Linked DNA regions of Homo sapiens: regions 2, 3 and 4 are each linked to region 1. The links are contacts of gene promoters, found by promoter capture Hi-C in blood cells and fetal thymus (Javierre and others, 2016). All regions are on one chromosome and are shown on one strand. Each heading gives the region's core, a stretch centred on a gene start or on the middle of the fragment in contact. The rest is flanking DNA. Distances are from core to core; before and after follow the strand shown. Region 1 holds the start of SH3TC2 (SH3 domain and tetratricopeptide repeats 2). Region 2 has its middle 64 kb from the start of HTR4. Region 3 has its middle 23 kb from the start of HTR4. Region 4 has its middle 76 kb from the start of ADRB2.

The links. Contacts are between HindIII fragments. The CHiCAGO score rates a contact against its expected background, and 5 or more counts as called.
Region 2: a fragment that was not itself captured here is called in contact with the fragment with the promoter of SH3TC2 in region 1 in 8 of 17 cell types (naive CD8 T cells, total B cells, total CD8 T cells and 5 more); the score reaches 9.0 in naive CD8 T cells.
Region 3: a fragment that was not itself captured here is called in contact with the fragment with the promoter of SH3TC2 in region 1 in 1 of 17 cell types (total B cells); the score reaches 5.9 in total B cells.
Region 4: a contact is called between a fragment that was not itself captured here and the fragment with the promoter of SH3TC2 in region 1, in 2 of 17 cell types (non-activated CD4 T cells and naive CD8 T cells). The highest score is 5.9, in non-activated CD4 T cells.

Annotation. Positions count from the first base shown.
Region 1 is chr5:149,061,776-149,064,475 of GRCh38, reverse strand. SH3TC2 (SH3 domain and tetratricopeptide repeats 2) reads left to right here and starts at 1,414. Exons shown (of 17, transcript NM_024577.4): 1 at 1,414-1,505. The coding sequence starts at 1,454. It overlaps MIR584 (microRNA 584), which reads left to right and starts at 2,067; the gene lies at 2,067-2,163. SH3TC2-DT (SH3TC2 divergent transcript) reads right to left here and starts at 1,159. Exons shown (of 3, transcript NR_122044.1): 1 at 802-1,159; 2 at 118-226. RefSeq lists a silencer at 1,156-1,450. The HindIII fragment of the contact is 16,687 bases long and covers 1-2,700 here.
Region 2 is chr5:148,717,308-148,720,007 of GRCh38, reverse strand. No RefSeq gene overlaps it. Among named protein-coding and RNA genes, the nearest start is that of HTR4, 64 kb to the right of the region's middle. RefSeq lists an enhancer at 1-485. The HindIII fragment of the contact is 1,112 bases long and covers 769-1,880 here.
Region 3 is chr5:148,676,071-148,678,770 of GRCh38, reverse strand. No RefSeq gene overlaps it. Among named protein-coding and RNA genes, the nearest start is that of HTR4, 23 kb to the right of the region's middle. The HindIII fragment of the contact is 166 bases long and covers 1,199-1,364 here.
Region 4 is chr5:148,749,712-148,752,411 of GRCh38, reverse strand. No RefSeq gene overlaps it. Among named protein-coding and RNA genes, the nearest start is that of ADRB2, 76 kb to the left of the region's middle. The HindIII fragment of the contact is 355 bases long and covers 1,179-1,533 here.

The sequences.
Region 1 (2,700 bases), core at 165-2,664:
CCTGATCTCTGGTGGGACTGACCCCTAGGCCATTCTTCACCTGGTCACCCAAGTGCTCCTCTCAGAATATAAACTTGATCAGGCCACTGCCGTCCTAAAAATGCTGGTGATACTGACCTCAAGTTCAGCCTCCAAATAGCCTGCAACATAGGCCTGGCAGGACCTTCTCTTGGCTCACACCTCCTGTTCTTTGGGCCTCTCACCAGGGTCCTTTCACCACTTTGCTCTAGTCATGAAGGAAACATTGGGTGAGCAGTGCTCTTTGAGCTTGGTTGTTAGAGCAGTCATGCTTCCGTCCTACCTTGCTGGCATTCAGCCATATTTTCTCCATCTCCTTTGCAAGATCTCATGGGAGGTTTTCTGAAATTTAGCCACAGTGTCAACTGGATTCCCCTGCTCCACTGCCTATCTGAAACAGGAAAGAGGTTAGTCTTGTGGGACCAGTTTTGCTTGCATACCTGTAGACTTGCTGTATTTTTTCTTTTAGTTTTATTTTTAATTGACACATAATAATTCTACACATTTATGGGCTAGAATGTGATGTTTCAATATATCTATGTATTGTGTAATGAACAAATCAAGGTAATTATCATATCCATCATCTCAAACATCATTGTTTTTTTGTGGTGAGAACATTCAAAATCCTCTCTTCTATGTTGAAATATACAATACGTTATTAACTGTAGTCCCCCTACTGTGCAATAGAACACTAGAACTTACTCCTCCTATGTAACTCTAACCTTTTACCTATTGACCAACCTCTCCCCATCCTTTGATGTATTTGGTTCTCCATCCCCTCACCTGTAAAATGCTGGGCTTCATCAGGTGATCTCCTGGATTCTTTTCCTGCACACCAGCAGCTGGGGGTTTGCATGTTCCCCAGTGAGGAGCTGGCTCATTGATGCTGCTAGGTCCAAGTGAAATGCTGCACCCACAGCTCCAACTTTATCAGAGAGCCAAGGGAGGCCTTTGCAGAGAGAGACTGGGTGGAGATCACTGTAAAGGGGTGGCAGGCCAGTCAGTGTGGGCCAAGTCAGTCGGGGAGGGAGCAAGAAGAGCAGTCTTGATCTCTGGGATGTTCTCTGCCCTCCTCCCCAGCCCTGGCTGCCCTCACAAGAACCAAACTGTGTATCTCAATCCTAGAATGCGAGGAATGTGCTGCAGGCTGATAGGCATGAAGCGATCTGCTGAGAGGCAGGGAGGAGCCCTGTTCCCCAGGCCTGACAGTGCAGGAGCTGTGGGCCTGCAGGCTGGGCTGGGCTGCCCCTCCCACCCTCCCTGGGCCTCCTGCTGTAGCCGGGATATCAAAGGCTGCATTGTGCATTGAGCAGGCCTCGGTCCCTCGTGTGCCAGGGAGGAGGCGGGAGGAGGGACACCGTTGGGAGGCTGTCCCTTGCAGCACTCTTCTGGCCTGTGTTCCCAAGGGCCTCGGCCAGGGTAGGATGGTACACACATGGGTGGCTGCTTCTGCATCCCCAGGGAGCGGAGTCTGACCCGGGGCCCAGGTGAGTTTCCCAGGGGGCCCTTGGCCTGTGGCTTGGCCAAAGTGGATGGTCCAGTAGAGGCTCAGGGACCTGCTGGGTTGGAGAAACTTTTCTCCCAAAGATGGGGAGATGATTGTGCTTTCTGGCTGCCTCTCCTTCCTCCCTGGGTAAGTGTTTGTCATGCTGGCTCTGTAAAAAGGGAGCAAAGCCTGGAAGCATCTATTTTTTCCTGAAGAAAGAGCCTTTGAGTTTACTCTGTCAGGAGCTGAGCAGCACTGCTCCTGGCTGCCACTCCCAGGGTGTGACTAAGCCCTTCCTTCCTTTCTTCCCGAGATCCCCCCAGGACAGGAAGAAAGTTCAGGCAGTGAGTTCCTCTGTGGCCTATGGGTGGCCATAAACTTGGCCTTAGTCATTCAAGCCTATTTTTGTCAGGGTTGCTGTTACTGGAGAAAAACAGGCAGTTTCCTGCCTCCACCTATTACAGAGTGATTTGTGTGTGAGTGCATGTGTGAGTGTGTGCATCAAGTTGAGGCAATGGAGAGTTGTTGCTCTAAGAAATTGTCAACTCATGGGAGAGTGACTTAGGGTGACCAGCCATTATGGTTTGCCTGGGACTGAGGAATTTGCTGGGATATGTCAGTTCCAGGCCAACCAGGCTGGTTGGTCTCCCTGAAGCAACCTTCTTGCTTTTTTTCAGAGGAGAATCAAGGTAGGGCCCTGTGTTCTCTTGTGTGGTGTTTATCAGGATGAGTGGTGGCTTTGGGGAAATGTGGGGTTAGATTGGTGGGGGGAGGCTTGCTTGGGAGATAGGGGAACATTGCTCCAAGGAATCATTCCTAACCCTTGTTAGAACTCTGTGTCTTCCTGGAGCTCCACCATGGTTCCTGAGAGAAGGAGCTAAGGAGCATCCCCTAGCTGAGGGCTTTCTACTCTCTGACAGACAACTTTCTTCTTTAGTCTTATGACTTGGGCTTGTAGAAGGCACTTGAGGTCATTAAAGTGAACCCAAAACAACCATATTCTGCTTCCTCTGCTTGAAGTCTTGATCTAGGCACCTTGGCACCTACAGCAGGGAGTGTCCCCCCAAATGATGCCCTTGGCACAAAAGGCACGACTTTAGCTATGAACAATTTCGCTTCTCCAGATTTCTCAGATGTAAACACTTTTCAGTCCCTCCCCCTAAGTCCTATTGTCATTGTGCCCCATGAGAGTAGAA
Region 2 (2,700 bases), core at 75-2,574, 340 kb after region 1:
ACGTTGCTCCAAGTTCTCAATTCTGTACTCTTCTTTGGTTAGTGCTTCTCACTGCCTTAACTGACCTTACAGGACTTCAACAACTGCCTGCTTAACTACATGTCCATTACTAGCCCCCTGTGTTCTCTTAAAGTCCAGACCTGTATCACAGAGGCGTCTTCCTACAGTCATCATTTGACTGGTAGGGGGCTTAATTAATTAGCATTTGTAAGATGTCTCCAGCCCGTTAGTGGATTAGAGGTAATTTGGAAAGCAGCGCCAAGAGCTTTCTATTACCTTCCTCTCTGCTGGTCTCTTTTCCTGCTTCTGGAGTAACTGGCATTGATGTTGACTCAAATGAACTTAAACTTGTTATCCTGTCTCATTTGATTTTTCATTAAATAGATTCCAAAGTATCCCAGAAACACTTTACAATGATCAGTCATTTCTCCTACAGACTAAACAAATTCAATGTTAATGAATAATGCAGTTTTATAATTGCACAAAGGGTGAAGTGTTTGAAACCACAGATAAAATATCTTGGATTCTTAGAGTTTTCTTTTATAAAAACCCTTCTCCTGTAGCCAACTTGGACATCATAGCTCTCCCATGACCGCCACCTAGTAATCCCTTCCTCACACTTAATGAACGCTTCCTTGACAGTCATAGAATTTAAATGTTTTGTTCTTTTTTTCATACCTTGATTGAATATTTTTTGTTCTGTTCTTATTTAGCCACACAGAGAATGATGCAATTAGGAAATACATTTGGGGGCTAATAAGGAAAGCTTGAACCAATACGGTTTAACAAGATGAAGGTTTGTTTTTTCTCATATACAGGTAGTCTGTAGGTTGACTTTCTATAGTTGTAGAAGTGGTTCTAGGATACCACCTATGTCCTAGACTGCTATCTTTTTATTCTGTCGTCATTAACATGTGACTTCCAACTTCAAGGAGCAAGACAGACAAAGTAGCTCCAGATATCAAGTCTTTATTCCGGGCAGGAAGAGGGAGGAAATATGGAAAAACAAAAAAGAGCCTCTTACCCTTCCTGAAAGCCTTATCCAGAACTTAGTTACCTGGCCACTGCTATCTTAAAATGAGGCTGAAAAAAGTAATTTTGTATCAGTGCACACCGATATCCCTGACAAAACTAGGTTTCTATTCTGAAGGAGGAAGGGAAAATGGGCATGAAATTGGTAATTATCAGCTTTTGCCACACAGCACTTTTTGACAGTATGTCTTAATAATCCTTAAGTCAATAATAAGTTACAAAAATAAGTGAAATACACACCTACCCCAGTGGTCATGGGCCTTTTGGGGTGCTAGATGACTTAATAGAGTACAGAGATCATTTTATCTGGAAGAATATTAATAAATCGTTATTTGCCACATGGTACCCAGCAATGACAAAAAGTAGATGCAAAGGGAGAAAACTTTTTAAAATCTTTATTAGCGTAGCGGAAATACTAACTTTCCTAGGCTTCTTCCTGCAGGTTCACCTGCAATTACTCTGAAGCAAAAGGGACTGGTGTTCCTTGTCCAAGAGCCCTGTCTAATCTATTATTCTTCTAGTTGGATTTTTGTTAGCTACTATATGTTCTGTACCATATTAAAGGTGGGTTGCTTCATGAGTTAAATATAAATAGGACAGCACCCCAACAGGGGAAGCAGAAGGCCACAGTGGGATTCTAAATTTGTGTCAACAACAACAACAATAACAAAACAAATGATACTTGTTGTGCAACTATCTAGCCATTGGCCATTTTCAAAATCTTTCTGCCTTAGGGAGATAATGACAGATTATTTGGGGTTGGAGGCAGTGTAGGGAAGAGATGGATAGGAGAAGACTAGGCAATTTTCTGAGTTTAGTGTAAGAAAAATGCCCAGTAGATAGAAGCTTAGCAGGTATTCAGTCAATGCTCGTTTCCTGTACCCTTTGTGATTCTGGAGCTAAGAAGTTTAGAAACTACCAGGGAGTTAAGTTCATGAAAGCATTTCATCTCCACTAAATTTTGTACCATCATCCAGAAGTAATGAAGCAAAATTGCTGAGATCCTTTTCACACCAGGGATTAGAAAACCTTTTCTCTGCCATCCTTTAGTGGCTTACTATGTAGCATTTGTGGCTTAGATCTTACCCAGAAACTACTTCCATCAGCAAAATACAGCATCCTGCGATCCTGTCACCTACTTTTTGCCTTCTCTTGGCTCTAACAGATGTTGTTTTCAGGGAGCCAGAAACAGAACCAATGTATCCTTTGATTCACTTAAGATTGCGGTTCAAGTTTGCGGAGATGCCATTTTTCCAGTAAGGTCTCTTCATTTGTTTTAGTCTGTTCTCACACTGCTATAAAGAACTACCTAAGATTGGGTAATTTATGAAAAAAAGAGGTTTAATTGACTCATAGTTCTGCAGGCTTAACAGGAAGCATGACTGGGAGGCCTTGGGAAATTTACAATCATGGCAGAAGGTGAAGGGGAAGCAAGCACCTTCTTCACATGGCAGAGCAGGAGAGGCAGAAGGTGAAGGGAAAGCAAGCACCTTCTTCACATGGCAGAGCAGGAGAGACAGAGAGTGAAGGAGGAAGTGTCACATACTTTTAAACCATCAGATCTCCTGAGAACTCACTATCACAAGAACAGCAAGGGGGAAATCGCCCTCATGATCCCGTTACCTCTTACCAGGTCCTTCCTTCAGTATGACATGAGATTTGTGCAGG
Region 3 (2,700 bases), core at 32-2,531, 390 kb after region 1:
GAGAAGGGTATGTGTTTGACCCCAACTTATTAGCCCAGGGGATGGTTCATGTAGTTATAAACACATGAGTAGTTTGGAAGGGTGGGTTGAAGGAAATCCATAGAAGGACATTATTTTATGATAAAGTCATTGTTTTTGCTTGCAGGAGAGGCAGAAGCCAGATACATAGTGACAGTTATAAGCAAAGGGTAGGCAACATGGGAAAGAGACAGGATGAAGACAGAGCCCACCACAGAGCAAGGTGGAGGTTGCCTGAGAATGAGGAGGGCCCAAGGATGTGTGCAGAAGAGAAAGCAAGTGGTGGAGGGAGGAAAGAAGGAGAAAGGAAAGGAGAGGGGAGAGAGCAAGTGAACATCCAGCTATCTCTTTAGTTGTTCTGCTTAGGTCTCTCAGAGTTTCCTCAAAATCAATATTTTTTACCTTCTTGAAAAAGCAAGTTCAACTTTATTTGAAACACTGACTTTATCACAGAATAAAATAGGGTTGAGCTTGCTTTTATTCTGTCATAGAATTCTAGAATTCAAATTTTCAAATAAATTTTGGTGTGTCTGCTTTCAAAATATTTCTCAGCCACATTCATATTGTCCAGTCTCTACTACCACCATCCTTATTTAAACCATTATCATCTCTTGCTTCACTGCTTGAAAATCTCATAGTTAGCTTTCACGTTTTTTATTCACCTTCCAAAACTGTTATCTTGGAGTAACTGCAGTGATCTTTTGAAATGGGATTATAGCACATCCCTCCTTAAAATGCTTCAGTGACTTCCCATTGCCCTTTGAGCAAAATCTAAATTTTCTCTGTCATACATAGTCAATCTCCTCCTGTTCAGCTCTGCTGCAGCCACACGAGCCTTCTTTCCATTCTTCAAGCTCCTGATTCCCTTTTTCTTGAAGTCGTTGCACCTGCACTTCCTTTGGGCTGGAACAGTTTACCTCCAGCTCTTTGTAGACCAGTCCCTTCTCTTCCTCTGGGTCTAACATTAGGTGCCTCTTACTGAGTGATGCCCAACCCAACGACCCCTCCGTTAGTCTCCATAATAGCACCTTGCTAGTTCCTGCATGTCACTTGAACAATTTGTAAGACTATATTTATTTGTTTGCTTGCTTTTCAAGTTGTCTATTTACCCTGTTAGACTGTGTACTCCATGAAGAAAGACTATCTTGGCTCTTTTAGTCACTGTTGTGTCCCTGAAGCTTAGCATGGTGTCTAGCACATTATTGTTGGCATGCAGTAAAGATTGGCTGAATGAATAAATAAAAGGAAGAAAGAAAATCATAGATCTAGACGATATTTTATATCTGTATATATACATACACATACATCTATATATATATAGTATTATTAGGATTGGTGAATAAGCTTTTTAATTAACAAAGAACCATAATTTTGTAAGCTGTTTTAAACATTCTCCTATGGCAAAGAAAGGGCAGCAGGTATAATTGAGCACTTGAAATAGTAACATTCCTTTACTTTGTAAAATGATATTTTTAGTGCATTCATTTCTCCTCTAATTGTTGCTGCATTTATTTCAGTTCCCATGGGAACCTAGAGAAGGACTTTCCCTATATTCCCCACCTCTTTGGGCTTCAGCAAAAGAAAATGGACCTCAAGGGAGTCTTCAAGAGCTGCTTCAAAATTTACTGTTCATCAAAGCACTTGCTGAAGACTGGCTTCATTTCAGAGGCTGTGCTGTGTTATGGAGAAGGAGGTGAAGGAGATACGGTGCTTACCATGAAGGAGAGGTGGCCACATGAATGCATCGTTTTAATACAGTGCAATAAGTGAGGTGATGAGCTTTGCGCAGATTTTATGGAATTAAGGAAAGAGGTCAGGAAAGCTTTTAGAAACTGTAGAGACAGTGCCTAAATTGTGTTTGAAGTTTGTCCCGAGTCAGCAGATGAGAGAGGGGAGGGAAGAGTGGAAAGCAATCTAGGTCAATTATCTTCCTATTTCAATTCAAAAGCATAAAGGAGATTTAAAACACAAAAGAAAAAAAATGAGAGGAATTAAACTTCAGAAAAGTAAAATACACAGTCGTCCACTGCTTATGTCCATGTGGGAAGGATGGATATGGGCCCAGCTAAAGAAAACTGTGAACTGTGGAAGAAAAAATTCCCACACATTTGTCATCCTGGGTTTTCCCAAGTAAAAGGGGTCAAATAGCCACCTTTGGGATGCATCCAATAGTCCCATGTAAGAGATTTTCTTAGGGTGCGGGGTGAGGATTATGGGGGAAGAGATGTACCAGTCTGAAAGGGAGTAAGCTTGACCACGTGGCTTAGTGGCATCTCTGAAACCAATAGGGATAATGATAATGCTGTAGTCCACATGGTTGGTCCAGAAATGGTGTTTTCATCAAAAGAACACAGTCTAGCAATCTACAGCTATTTCAAAATAACCCAAATCTTTCGTAAGTATGTCTCAGCAACAGGAAGGTGCAACATAATTTCCAGGAACATTCAAATTCCCTCTTTTCCTGCTTTTTTCCCACCTGCCTCTCCAACTTCAGGTGCTGCCTTCAGTTTCTCTGCTCTTTAACTCTCTCCTCAAATCCTCATGTCCTTTTTATTACCCCATCATTTCCTCTTGACCTCAAATCCTGCTATCTCAAGAATTATAAGGAGGACCTCCCCATTTGGATGGGGGAGGAGCCTCAACAGCTAATTATTTTAATTAAGTCACATTCTCATTAATTGA
Region 4 (2,700 bases), core at 107-2,606, 310 kb after region 1:
CTGGGGCCTGTTGGGGGGTGGGGGGCTAGGAGAGGGATAGCATTAGGAGAAATACCTAATGTAGATGACGGGTTGATGGGTGCAGCAAACCACCATGGCACATGTATACTTATGTAACAAACCTGCACGTTCTGCACATGAACCCCAGAACTTAAAGTATAATAAAAAATGTATGTAAAAAAAAGAAAATGTGATGTATGTATACAATGGGATATTATTCAGCCTTAAAATGGAAAGGAAATCCTGCCATTTGCAAACATATGGATGTACTTGGAGGATATTATGCTAAGTATTATAAGCCAGACACAGAATGACAAACACAACATGACACTATTTATACAACAAATATAAAATAGTCAAACTCTTAGAAGCAGACAATGAATGGTGGTTGCCAGGGACTGAGGAGAGGACATATTAGAAGGTGTTAGTTGAAAGTTTCAAAGGTTTGGTGATACATAATGAATAAGTTCTAAAGGTTTACTGCACGACATAGTGCTTATAGTTAACAATACTGTATAGTATACTTAAAAATTTGCTGAATGGGTAGATGTTATATGAAGTGAGCTTATCACATACACACACACATACATACAAATAATATATAAGAGGAGAGGGGAAAAATTTTGCTTTATATTTATCTCCAAACTCGTCAAGTTGTACATATTAAATATGTGTAGCTTTTTGCATGTCAATCCTACCTTAATAAAGTGGCTTAAAAGAGGAAGAGTATTATAAGGTTCAAACCACAAGAAGAAAGCCAGAAGAAAGCAGGTAGTCCTGGGAGAGACACTATACCACTGTGGTTTTCAAGTCTGAGACACTGACCAGCCCCTTTAAGAAAAAAGAAATTTCTCATAGTCCCCATCATTGATATGTCCCTTTTATTATAATGTTATTTACACATACACAAACATAAAAGTAGGAATAAATCATTCATTTTATAGTTGTATATAACCAAAGTAGCAAAATAACTTTTTAGTTAAATGTACTATGAATAAAATTATAAAACAACTAAAATTTAAGTGGCCAAATTAATTGTGATGGATAATCTCACATGGCTAAAAGGAATTCTCTGCTCACATCTAGTCTAGCGAGGTTCTTTGGAGTTTGACTTGTCTATTCACTCTTGAGCCTCAGTTCTTTCATCACACTTTCTCTGTGGGCATTGTTGCAAAGCTTTAGTCCCACGAAGATCCATGATGTCATCTGACTTTCACATGATGCAAGTGTATCACTTTTTCATTAAGATTGCCTCCTTTTTCTTCATTAACTCATGACAACTGAGTACTATTACTTGGATACAATTTGTTTGCAAATACAACAAATACAAACACTGAAATCTCATAAGGTAGTCATGCAGGTAACCCAAGCATGAGAAACATTTGAATGATAAATTCAAATGCAAAATTGTAGCATTATCATAGGATGCCTAAGAATTTGTGGATATCTGAGGCTGCACTGAGAAGCACTAGTGCTATAGAAAGATTTACTGTGCCTACAGCCTCTTTCTAAGGGAGCTGACGTTTCTAAGCTTCTGCTGCTCAAGTGGCTATATCCTGTGCCTTATCACCCATTGGCCTTTCCCCATCTCTGCACTCTGGCCTCGCATTCTGGCCACTGTGGGTTGGGGCAGGAAGGGGGTGTGCACTTGAACCATGAGCGTGGAATCCACTGGCTGGCTAGTGGCCAGAAATTTTTAGAGGCAAAAAAAGAAGTTGGAAACATTTCCACCCTCTCACTTTTCTCCCCAAAATATGGAGGAAAGTTACCAATCGACAACACACACGAATGCAGAAAGGTGATGCCAAATAACAGCTAGAGAGCTATGTCACTCATAAGTAAAGTGAAGTTATGGGGCCATGGACACCGTAACCATTTTGAATCACTCTTCGGTTTTAGACGCCTATAAACCCAGCTCAAGTTAATGTCAGAAAAAAAAAAAAAAAAAAGGCTGGGCGCGGTGGCTCATGCCTGTAATCACAGCAGTTTGGGAGGCCGAGGTGGGCGGATCATGAGGTCAGGAGATCGAGACCATCCTGGCTAACACGGTGAAACCCCTTCTCTACTGAAAATACAAAAAATTAGCCAGGCATGGTGGTGGGCGTCTGTAGTCCCAGCTACTCGGGAGGCTGAGGCAGGAGAATGGTGTGAACCCGGGAGGCGGAGCTTGCAGTGAGCCAAGATTGCACCACTGCACTCCAGCCTGGGCGACAGAGGAAGACTCCATCTCAAAAAAAAAAAAAAAAAAAAAAAAGGAAATGTAGGCCCAGTGCCGTGGCTCACGCCTGTAATCTCAGCACTTTGGGAGGCTGAGGTGAGTGGATCACCTGAGGTTGGGAGTTCAAGACCAGCCTGGCCAACATGGTGAAACTCCATCTCTACTAATAATACAAAATTAGCCAGATATGGTGGTGCATGCCTGTAATCCCAGCTACTCGGGAGGCTGAGGCAGGCAAATTGCTTGAACTGGGGAGGCAGAGGTTGCAGTGAGCCAAGTTCATGCCATTGTACTCCAGCCTGGGCAACAAGAGTGAAACTCCGTCTCGAAAAATATATAAATAAATAAAAATAAAAAAGGAAATGTAATTGCTCCAAGATGGGAAAATCAATGATTTCATCTGAACCAAGCCTTTCTCTTTCTACTAGTTCTATTATCCTATATGTTTACTTTATTCCAAGACATCACGTGAGGGTAAGAAG